4 separate regions of the Homo sapiens genome follow, and all the other regions are linked to region 4. The links are contacts of gene promoters, found by promoter capture Hi-C in blood cells and fetal thymus (Javierre and others, 2016). All regions are on one chromosome and are shown on one strand. The core of a region is centred on a gene start or on the middle of the fragment in contact, and the rest is flanking DNA. Distances in the headings are between cores, read along the strand shown.

Region 1 (2,894 bases), core at 80-2,579, 380 kb after region 4:
CTCAGTGGGCACACACTCCAGGCCCTCGTCATTGCAGCAGCCCCCGCATCGCATCAGGGGCACACAGGATGGCTTGAAGATGTACTCGATCTCATCAGGGTACTCCTGGAAGATGTCCACCAGGGTCTCGATTGGATGGCAGTAGCTGCGCTGATAGACATCCATGAACTTCACCACTGCATGAGAGGCGATGACACATGAGCCCGGTGGGCGACACAAAAGATGGCTAGCCCCTCTCTCCACCCAGCTCTGTAATGCCACTCTTTGGAGCTTCCGAATCAGGCAAGTCCTTCCAAAATCTAACGTAAGTCCCTCCTACTGTGTTTGAAGCACTTCCCTAAGCTTTCCACCATCAACACTGGTGAAGGCCTGTTTTCATTCCAGAGATCACACGATGTACTCAAGTTCCAAGGGACATGGCCTGCCACATCTGATCCCGCCACCTCACTGTGACAGCTGAACTGAATCCTGGGCCAACCTCGATGCCAGAGGACAGTCTGAGTATGGGTATACCCCATGGGGATGCTCTAAGCTTTCCCTAAAAGGAGGAAGAGCCAGCTTTGCCAAGCTAGTCTCCAGTTTCCTACGTCCTCCCCACAACCACTACCATAACGTCAACCATACCAACAGCTGTTTATTGAGCACTTACTACATCCTGAGTACTGTGTACAGTAGTCCACAGCTATCATTTCACACAAGTTTCTCCACATGGTACTATTAGACACTATTGAGATTCCATTTTACAGATGGGGAACAGGAGGCTCAAAGAGGCTAAGTAAGTTGCCCCAAGGCCGCACAGCTAGTAAGTAAAGGAGTCAGAATTAGCTGACATCAAAGTGTTCCCAAGCCTATATTAGGCAAAAACAGAGGAGGCACCTTTCAGGAGGAGGCACCTTTCCCCCTGCCAGTCCTCTTCCCCAGACATGAGCTGAGAAGGTGGTGGGCATCAGCACAGGGGCTGGGCCCTCCTGGAACCCACAGGTGGCAGTGGGCGGACACGCTGTGCCAGCCCTGCCAGCCACTGATAACCCCGCCCAAGAGGGCAAACTGCTTGCATCATGGAAAAAACAGTGCTGCCACTGTAGCCACGAAACATTTCTAGAAGCTGATCTGAAGGGAGACCAGGGTAGAGACAGTTTCCCAGGCTGGCCACGAAGCCTGGGGTGCACTGGAGCATGAAGGGGTAATTCTGGGCCACAGAGGCGGGGCCCTTGAGAATAAATAAATGCAGGACTCTGGCATGACTACTCCAAATTGTGGCCCAGCCTGCCACGCCTATCGCACCCCACCACCACTACCACATAGCAATCCTGTCCCTGAAATAGGTTCCCTACCCAGAGGGAAGAAATAACACCTGGCCAGTGAGGAGGCCCAGGCTCTGGCCATGAGTTGGTATGACCTTGGGCCAGTCCCTCCCCTCTCTAGGCCTCCAACTCTGCTCAACTGTGTAAGTGGGTTGGGCTGATCTCTAAAGATGCTGAAACAGGCTGAAAAAGGTGGTGTTTTGGCTTCCATTTCCAGCCCTAGGAACAAGTGCTCTTTTTTCAGCCTGGGTAATATGAAGTTTAGAACTTCACCAAAGCATCTTAAGTGTATGCTTCGTGGACTTCCACCCCAGCTCCCAACCCCCACCCCCCAGAGACCACAGCTGAGCCTCCCCCTCACTCCTCCCTCCAAGGTCTGCTTTCCAGAAGAATAAAGGACAATGAGGGGGGCTATGTACACAATAGGTTGATTGGGAAGAAGGTGGGGAGAAGGCCACAGGTGTGAAAACAGAAAGAACAGTGGGGAAACAGGCCAGTCCACTGCTTCCTGTGAGGTCTCTATTTCTTTTATCCAGACCACCAATGGGCACAGAATCCTTCTCTACCCACGAAGGGTTACGGCAAAGCATCATCAAAAAGAGTGAACGAGACTAGAAGTCTGAAAAGGTCATTTTTTAAAGCCAAGTCGATAGGGGAGAAGATGACTAATCAAGAAGTTTTGAACTGCCCCTTCATCACAATTGGGACAGAGGAGGGCCAGGCTTGTGGCCCAGGAGGGGATAGCAGGAAGGTCTGGCCTGGGCAAGGGGTTGGTAACTGAGGGTAAAAAGACCTGGGGTAGGAATTCCCCCAAAAAGCTTCCCCTTGGAATGAATCCCCAAGTCCCATGGGAGGTGGAGGCGGGGAACCTCACCCGCATCCTTCATCAGGCAGCCGCCCCTCCAAGGAGGGCTGGCCTCCACTGCCTGGGGGAGCACACACGTACACTCCAACAACCAGGCTTTCGTGGTTTTCCTTATTTATCGCAGACAACCTTTTCTCCAGCAAACAAAGACCTTTGTCCTGCCTCTCCCAGACCAGAGACCACTGGGAAGCTGGAAGGGGTAAGTGGCGCACTGGAAGCAGGGGGCCGGTCAGTGGCTGAGAAGCCAGGTCCTAGGCCAAGGAAAGGGCTCCTGGGGTGGGGAAGGAGGAGGCAGAACAGGCTGGGCATCACCACTGCTGGCCACTACCCAGCCACGCCAGATTTAGGTCAGGGAAACTCGCGGGAAGGAAGACCCCAGGGCCTTCCCTCCCCAGAGGTGGAGAGCACAGGCCACAGTCAGTGGTGGGGAGAGCCAGGGTGTCCCCAGAGAAATGGGAGGATCCAAACCACAACGGAACAAAAGGCAGGCGGACTCGGGGTTGGGCAGGGGGGCGGGGCGCCTGGGAGCTACAGCCAGCCCTCTGCTGGCCTGGGAGGGAAGTTCACAGCACCCGAACATAGTCAAATGGGGTTTTCTCCACCCCCAAAGGAATGCAAACCAGGGAAGGGAGGAGAGATCCCATTAGGCTGAGCCCTCTGTGCCTCCAGCTCACACAGGAAGGGTCACAGTTCCCACAAATGGGACATGTCTATATAGGAAATGA
Region 2 (2,700 bases), core at 117-2,616, 430 kb after region 4:
ATATCAGAGCTCTAAGGAAGTGTAGAGACCTACCAGACAGTAGACAGAGAGGGAAACTGAGGCTGTGGGGATAAAGGAAAGAAAAGGAGGCACCCAGAGCTCTGGGTTCTGGTCCTGGCTCAGCACTCTATGGCCCTGGGCTGGTCCCTTTCCCTCTGTGTGCTCCGGGCCTCCCCCCAGGCTTGCTGTCCCAGGGTTCTAACTGAAGCACCTTGCCCGAGGAGCTCAGGCCCAATCAGTCAGCCGCAGGTGGACTCCTGATTTCACCTCCAGGCCCCTGCCTTAGCCAGGTCCTGGGGACTTATGGCAGATGGGCTGGGGCAGGGGGAGGGGTGGGGAGAGGAGGAGGGGGAAGAGGTAAATGTCACGCCAGGGAGGGGCAGCAGGGAAGGGAAACTGAGTGTGTCCCTGGCTTGCCCCAGCCTGTCCCTTACATCCGGGGAAGGGTGAGAGTGACTGTCAGCTGGGGAAGGGGGGCAAGAAGGGTAAGCTGGGGAAGGGCAGGGAACCCCCGTCTGAACTTGTTGGGGCAGCCGGATGTAGCAGTTTCCGGCTGATGAAAGGGCCCTGATTGATGTGATAGTGACTGACTCTAACCCCCAAATCCGAGTTCTTCCCATCCTCCCCAACTTGGGCACTCCCAAAGGCCCACTTTGGAGACAGGCAAAAGCCAGAGAGAAGGGAGAAGAGTGGGGCTTCTCCTGCCACTGGGGACAACACCCCAAGGACAGGGTGGAGGGAAGCTTGTCTAATCTTTCCCACTCCAGCCCAGCAGGGACCCGGGCCAATTCGAAGTGTGGAGGGAGGGGGATTGAGCCAGGATCAGAGGGCAGGGCCAGGGAAGAGGTGCAAAGGCCTTGCTCCCTCCTCTCCCCGTGTTGGACATTCAAATATACATGTACAGCCCCAAGGATGGCAGGGAGGAGAGCAGGGAGTGTCACTGAGCATTCATTTTACAACCTGTCTAGCCATTTGCCTTTTGCCAGGCCCATATAATAATAGCAAACATTGGTTGAATGTAGCAGGCATCCTTCTAAGTAAGAAGTTTAGTGCATGACCTTGCTGACTCCTCACCACAGCCCTACGAGGTAGGTGCCATCATCTCCCCTATTTTATGGATGAGGATATAGCAGCCCAGAGTGGTTAAGGAACTTAACCTTAGGGAGAGTGGAAATGTGAACCCAGACTACACTGCCTGGAGGGGGTTATCATGGGATAGGGGGACAGAGCCAACTTGTAACCAACCTGTAAACAAATAATGACCTTACAAGCAGGAAGAGTTTCAAAAAGAGATGTATGAGGTACAATGAGTCCCTGGAGGAGGGGCACAGTGGACAGGTGTTGAAGGGGAAAAGGAGAACCAGGAGAGTCTTCTAGGACAATAAACATTTAAATTGGATTTGGGAGGTTATGGGGTGTTTCCTAGTTTAGGTTGTTTTATTTTCTTTTTCACTTTTTTTATTATGGTAAAATATGTATAACATAAATAGTCACCATTTTAACTATTTTAAGTGTACAATTTAGTGGCAGTTTTTAATTTTGATGAAGTCCAATTTATCTATATTTTTCCTTTGTTGCCTGTGTTTTTGGTGTCATACTAAAGAAACCATTGCCAAATCCAAGGCCTTGAAGATTTTCCCCTGTTTGGTTTCATTTGTAGAGATGAGGTCCCACTATACTGCCCAGGCTAGTCTCAAACTCTGGGCTCAAGCAGTCCTCCCACCTCAGCCTCCCAAAATGCTGGGGTGACAGGCATGAACCACCACACCTGGCTCACTTTTTTTTTAAGAGTTTTACAGTTTTAGCTCTTAAATTTTGGTATTTTATCCATATCATCTGCAAACAGAGATCATTTTATTTCTTTCTTTCCAATCTGGGTGCCTTTTATTTCTTGCCTAATTGCTCTGGCTAGAACTTCCATTACTGTGTTGAATAGAAGTGACAAAAGCAGCCATTCTTATCTTGTCCTGATTGTAGGGGGAAAGCTTTCAATCTTTTGCCATTGAATATGATGTTAGCTGTGGGTTTTTCATATACAACTTTTTCATGTTAAGGAAGTTCTATTCCTAGTTTATTAAGTGTTTTTAATCAAGAAATTTTTGTATTTTCTCAAATGCTTTTTCTGCATCAACTGAAACAATTGTGTATGGCTCTTTTTTCCTTCATTCTATTAATGTAGTACATTATATTGACTGATTTTTGTATGTTAAACCATCCTTACATTATGGGGATAAATCCCACTTGGTCATGGTGTGTAATCCTTTTAATATGCTGCTAAATTTGGTTTGCCAGTTTTTTGTTGAGGATGTTTGCATCTCTATGCTTAAGGTATGTTGGCCTATAGTTTTCTTGTAGTGTCTTTGGCTTGGTATCAGGGTAACGTTGGCATCACAGAATGAGTTGGAAAGGTTCTCTCCTCTTCAATGTTTTGGAAGAGTTTGAGAAGGATTGGTGTCAATTTTTCTTTACATGTTAGGTAGAATTCACCAGTGAAGATATCTAGTCCTGGACTCTTATTTGTTGGGAGGTTTTTGATTGCTGATTCAATCTCTTCACTTGTTATATCTCTATTCAAGTTTTCTATTTCCTTTTAAGTTGGTTTTGATAGTTTGTGTTTCCAGGAATTTGTCCATTTCATCTAAGTCATCTAATTGGTTGGTGTGTAATTGTTCATAGTATTATCTTATAATCCTTTCTATG
Region 3 (2,720 bases), core at 74-2,573, 320 kb after region 4:
GATTCAGCACTGAGGCCTGCACAGCACTCTGACTTCTGTGGAAGACTCAGGACAGGGCTCCTCAGAATCAACAGACACGAGACCCAAGGATTCCACCTCACCTGGGGACGCGATGTTGCAGCCCTGGCATATTTGGGCCTCTTCTGGCTGCCCTGGGCCTGGCCTCTCTGTGTCTGGACCTGAGTGCAGGTACCTGGCCTGGGTTCCAGCCTGGGCAGGGCCAAGAGAGTCACCCTGCCACCAAAAGCCCACTGTCAGGACTTAGACTGCCCTCAAGCAGGGTTGTGGCCCAGCAGGAAAGTGACCTGGGGCCAGGGAAGGGACCCCAGGGGCAGCCTGGGGCTGGGGGGGGTCAACTTGGCAGTTCTTTTTCAGACCACTAGATGTCACTTCCATTTCAAAGGAACCCACTGGTTGGAATTTTCCCCAGTCAGGTCCCCACAGCCTTCAAGTCTTAAAGACACACAGACCACAAAAGAAAACTTCATTTTCCCCGGAGGACCAAGACACTGGAAACCTGGCCAGGAGCTGCCCCCAACCCTCAGCTGAAGCTTCCAGGGGCTCCATAACATCCCATCCCAACCCTGGAAAGAGCCAGAGGTGATGGAACTCCATCTCCCCATCCCCCACCTGTCCTACAGGTTAGTATGGGGATGGTATTTTCTGAAATGAACAAAAAAATGAAAGACGTGATGAAATGAATGTGAGTGCATTTGAGGGGGACGATGTTTGAAACAGGGGACATATATGCCAAAGATCCTCTTCAGGGCCAGGAGATTCCAGGTTCATCAAGGTCATGTTGTCCATCCCCAGGCTTCAGACTATCCTCAAAAAGTTCGGGTAAGGCAGCGCTGAAGGGAAGTTCCAGGGACCTTGCTTTCTCCACTCCAGTCCCCAATATTCAGTCAACATCTCTTGGCTGGCTGGGGCTGATTATTATAAAGTACAACCTTTGTGAGGTAAGTATAAAGATAACCCCATTTGACAAATGAAGACACAGAGGTATGGAGAGGGTTAAGTGAGAAAGTTCTCCCCAAGCCTCTTGCTGCTGTCCCATCTCAGCTCCCCACAGAAATGCGGCATGGATTCAGCTGGTTGGTTTATCTACAGCTCAGGTTGCTGCTTAAAGACTCATTCTCTTTAGTTCATTTGTACTGGCTTTTACCCAGTGGTTTTCAAACTTGGCTGCCCATTAGAATCACCTGGGGAACTTTCAAAAATTCTGATGCATGGCTGGGCACAGTGGCTCACACCTGTAATCTCAGCACTTTGGGAGGCCAAGACGGGAAGATGGCTTGAGCTCAGGAGTTTAAAACCAGCCTAGGCAATAGAGTGAGACCTTGTCTCTATTAAAAATTTAAAAATTAGCCGGGTATAGTGGCATGCACCTATAGTCCTTGGTGCTACTTGGGAGGCTAAGGTGGGAGAATTGAACCCAAGAGGTCGAGCCTGTAGTGAGCCGTGATCGTGCCACTGCACTCCAGCCTGGGGGACAGACTGAGACCTTGTCTAAAAAAACATCTGATGCCCTGGTCACCCCATATAAATTAATTCAGAATGCAGGAGGGTTGGAGTAAGTCAGGCATCAGTATGCTCTTGTAAATGTCCAGGTAATTCCAATGAGTGGCCAAGTCTGTGGACCATTATTTAACCACTCCCCCAACCTACCCTCAGCCAACACTGAGGGTTTACCTACAGGCCTGGCAGGGTGAGATTGGAAAGGCTGTGTTGCTATTAATGATTATTTAATCACATTTAATAATAGGATACCCAGAAACAAATACCTCACATACTGTAAGGCAGGAGGGCATGCATTGTTACTTTCCCGCAGAGGGAAGACTGACGTTCAAAGAAGTGAAGCAACTCACCCAGCGAATAAGTGAGTAGAACAAGGGCTAACACCCAAGTCTTCTTAGTTCTCAGACAAATGCTCCTGCCTCTTCATTATGCCTCCGAGATAAGGTGAGCTGCTTCCAGAGCAGTTAGCATCATACATAGAAAACTGTTCATTGTCAGTATCTGACCTCTAGCCCCAACCACTTATCAACAGCCAGTCATAACCACAGCTGACCCTTTATCTTGACTACAAGCTTGCTTTACCCTGGCTACCACTTGACCCCTAACCCTGGCCACTGCTGGCCCCTAATTGAGACCACAAGCTATCCCTAATGCCAGCCATGTTCAGCACTGGCCAGAATATGGAGGGCTCAGGCTACCCAGTCACCAAACCAGGGAATACCTCTGTGTCGTGTCATAATTACTAATGATAATAAGCACGTGGGGCCTGTGTGCCAGACAGGGTTTCAATATGTCTCTACGAACTATCAGGTCAGATCTAAAGGCTTCCCCAAAGTTTCTCTTTCTTGTAAGGCTCGCCCTTTCCTGCTCCGATCTCTCTCTTTCACACACACACACACACACACACCTCCTTGCTCCTGCAGTTCCCCAGGCCTGGAATGCCCTTCCTCCTCCCCACTCTCCAGGATCCCCTCAAGGCCTTCCTCCCAAGGAAGCCTACAGGGCCCCCAGGGTCCCACATAGCCCAGGCTTACGGACCCCTTCAGTAGGTGTCACCAGGCCCAAGAGAGCAAAGTCACTCAGCTTAGCATCTTCTCTCCTTTCTCACAAGGTCAGGAAGGTCAGGGCCGCCCAGCAGGGGTGACAGTCAGATGTCAGGGGACACTCACCCGCACAGGCACTCACATACGCACACATGCTCA
Region 4 (2,799 bases), core at 139-2,638:
TACTGCACATACTTGTTATTTGTTTGTGGTGAGAACACTTAAAATCTACTGTCAGTGATTTTCTTTTTTTTTTGAGATGGAGTCTCGCTGTGTCGCCCAGGCTTGGGGTGCGGTGGCACGATCTCGGCTCACTGCAACCTCCACTTGCTGGGTTCAAGAGATTCTCCTGCCTCAGCCTCCCGAGTAGCTGGGATTACAGGCGCCCGCCACCACGCATGGCTAATTTTTGTATTTTAGTAGAGACACGGTTTCACTATGTTGGCCAGGCTGGTCTCGAACTCCTGACCTCAGATGATCCACCTGCCTTGGCCTCCCAGAGTGCTAGGATTACAGGCGTGAACCACTGTGCCTGGCCTCTCTCAGTGATTTTCTAAATGCAATACATTGTTATTAGGGGACTATAGATTTAAGGACAGTTTGATTTCCGGCACTGGGAAAAAACTAAGATGTTGTGTCAGGGAACTTTAAAAAAAAATAAATACTAATAAGTAATAATAATAAATAAATAAATTATATTTTGAGATGAGGTCTTGCTATGCTGACCAGGCTGGTCTTGAACTCCTGGGCTCAGGGCACTTCTGAAGAACAAGGACTGGGTTTGGGGTCACCAGCTAGGCCTAAACTTCCTAGGGTCAGGTAAACAGGGAGGGCCTGAGAAGCTGGGAGGCTGGGTCTAGGGGCCCATGGTCTCACGGTGCCCCAGGCTGAGGGTGAGGTACAGGGCTGACCTTCTGCTGGCCAAGGCTGGCTGCCCTCTGTGCACCCTAGCCCCACAGGAACAACTCAGTTCTGCCCAGCCCTCCCCTTCCCCCCAGCCCACTCTCCCCCATCTCCTGGAGTCTGGTCCCAGGCTTGCCTCAGGTAGTCCTGCCCCTGCCACCCTGAGGATCTCATCTTCCTGGGCTGAGGGACCTGCTTTTCTAGGCTTAGGAGAGGTTCTCTCTGTTCCCTAAAGTTTTCTTCTCTACGTGGGCTTTTTCACACAAACCCTTTTCCCCAGCAGCCATGACAGTGGGATGGCCGGCCCCTCTCCTCTCCCCAACTCCAACTGTCAGTGGAGAGGAGAAAGAGTTCCTGCCCGGCCTACCACCCAGTCTGACCACCAGTGGCCTATCCTTCCCCAAACAGTCTGAGAACGAGGCCCAGGTCCTGTCCTTAGGGAGCATCCAGTCTGATGGAAGAGTCACTCTCTGTACCCTCAAGGGGCATCCAGTCTGATGGAAGAGTCACTCTCTGTACCCTCAAGGGGCACCCAGTCTGATGCGGGACACAGCTCCTCCCCTGGGGGGAGGCTCTAGCCTGCAGGAGGTACAGGAGTGGGGCAAGGCCCCATGAGTGCCTACCTGGGGAGTACAGCATGCTGGTGGCTAGCTCGGTGCTTGACAGTTGAAGGTTCTGGTGGGAGGGGGAGAAGAGACCCTCCCCCCAGAACTCTCTCATTGCAGTGGGATTCCTAGGTCAGCAGCCGGTTTAACAGCTGCCTTCCCTTTTCTCCTTCTCAGTAACCCAGCCCCTTACCCAGCTGAGGGCTACCCGCTTTAGGGACAGATGACCCAGCACCCCTGCCTTGCACAGCCTCCACCAGCCTGGCTGTCCTCACTGTATCACGGTCATCCCATCAGGGTAGGTCCCAGTCCCTTTTTTTCAGCCCAAGGTTTCCAGGAAGGGGTTGTCCCTGACACACCAACCTGACCTTTACATCCAGAAAGCCTTCTCATTCCCAAAAGCCCCTTTCTCACTGACATGGCATTTTTCCTGTGTTGCTGTCTTCACATGGCACCCTCCTCTGTGTCTCTTCTTCTTATAAGGACACCAGTCATATGGGGCTAGGGTCCCATGCATTTCAGTATGACCTCATCTTAATTGAACGAATTACATCTGCAACCACCCTGTTTCCAAATGAGGTCACATTCTGAAGTACTGGGGGCCAGGACTTCAACATGCCTTTTTGGGGGACACGATTCCACCTGCAACACTCTCCTTGCCTAGCCCCAGTCTGGCAAGGTTAGGCCACTGGTCTGACCACATGTCCTGCCTCTGCACTGGAAAGTGGGAATGCTTTGAGCTAAGAACTCTGCTCCAGAGTGCAGTCTTCTCTGGAGTGTATGATGGCTGAGGACAGGGACTGTCAAGGTCATCCCAGTGCCCCTCAGCCCTGCCTGGTGCTAATCAGGCACAGAACAGGTGTGAGAGCACCCAATGGGATCAGAGAACCTTGTTCCAAGCTCTGAAACAGGAGCTGACCTTGGGCGAGCCCTCCCCCTTTCTCCTTTCTGGGACTCAATCTCCTCATCTACGAGAATATTAATTATGGTTTGTTATTATGTGCCAAACACTGGGCTAAGAACTTCCTACTTATTTAATCCTTAAAACAGCCAGAGGCCATGACATTGCTATTCCCATTTTATAGATGAGGAAAGTGAGGTCTAGAGGTATGATGCAACTTGCCCAGGGTCACACAGCTGTTAAGCGGTCGAGCCAGGATTTAAACTAATAACTTCAGATTTTTTTTTTTTTTTTTTTTTTTGAGATGGAGTCTCGCTCTTTTGCCCAGGCTGGAGTGAAGTGGTGCAATCTCAGCTCACTGCAACCTCTGCCCCCCGGGTTCAAGCGATTCTCCTGCCTCAGCCTCTCAAGTAGCTGGGATTACAGGTGCCCACCACCATGCCCAGCTAATTTTTGTATTTTTAGTAGAGACGGGGTTTCGCCATGTTGGGCAGGCTGGTCTCGAACTCCTGACCTCAGGTGATCACTCGCTTCGGCCTCCCAAAGCGCTAGGATTATAGGCATAAGCCACCG

What was found. Contacts are between HindIII fragments. The CHiCAGO score rates a contact against its expected background, and 5 or more counts as called.
Region 1: a contact is called between a fragment that was not itself captured here and the fragment with the promoter of CAPN11 in region 4, in 11 of 17 cell types (naive CD4 T cells, naive B cells, naive CD8 T cells and 8 more). The highest score is 10.6, in naive CD4 T cells.
Region 2: a fragment that was not itself captured here is called in contact with the fragment with the promoter of CAPN11 in region 4 in 11 of 17 cell types (total CD4 T cells, naive CD8 T cells, activated CD4 T cells and 8 more); the score reaches 11.2 in total CD4 T cells.
Region 3: a contact is called between a fragment that was not itself captured here and the fragment with the promoter of CAPN11 in region 4, in 1 of 17 cell types (monocytes). The highest score is 5.2, in monocytes.

Annotation. Positions count from the first base shown.
Region 1 is chr6:43,774,751-43,777,644 of GRCh38, reverse strand. It overlaps VEGFA (vascular endothelial growth factor A), which reads right to left. Exons shown (of 8, transcript NM_003376.6): 3 at 1-176. Among named protein-coding and RNA genes, the nearest start is that of VEGFA, 6.0 kb to the right of the region's middle. RefSeq lists an enhancer at 2,599-2,893. The HindIII fragment of the contact is 1,590 bases long and covers 535-2,124 here.
Region 2 is chr6:43,731,955-43,734,654 of GRCh38, reverse strand. No RefSeq gene overlaps it. Among named protein-coding and RNA genes, the nearest start is that of VEGFA, 37 kb to the left of the region's middle. RefSeq lists an enhancer at 456-645 and a silencer at 749-1,043. The HindIII fragment of the contact is 1,242 bases long and covers 746-1,987 here.
Region 3 is chr6:43,836,123-43,838,842 of GRCh38, reverse strand. All of the region lies in intron 1 of LOC105375070 (a long non-coding RNA gene), which reads right to left. It overlaps LOC105375069 (a long non-coding RNA gene), which reads left to right and starts at 44. Exons shown (of 3, transcript XR_001744130.1): 1 at 44-189; 2 at 431-959; 3 at 1,832-1,911. The HindIII fragment of the contact is 1,539 bases long and covers 554-2,092 here.
Region 4 is chr6:44,157,409-44,160,207 of GRCh38, reverse strand. CAPN11 (calpain 11) reads right to left here and starts at 1,388. Exons shown (of 23, transcript NM_007058.4): 1 at 1,344-1,388. The coding sequence starts at 1,359. LOC107986599 (a long non-coding RNA gene) reads left to right here and starts at 1,605. Exons shown (of 3, transcript XR_002956350.2): 1 at 1,605-1,623. RefSeq lists an enhancer at 42-211. The HindIII fragment of the contact is 9,288 bases long and covers 1-2,799 here.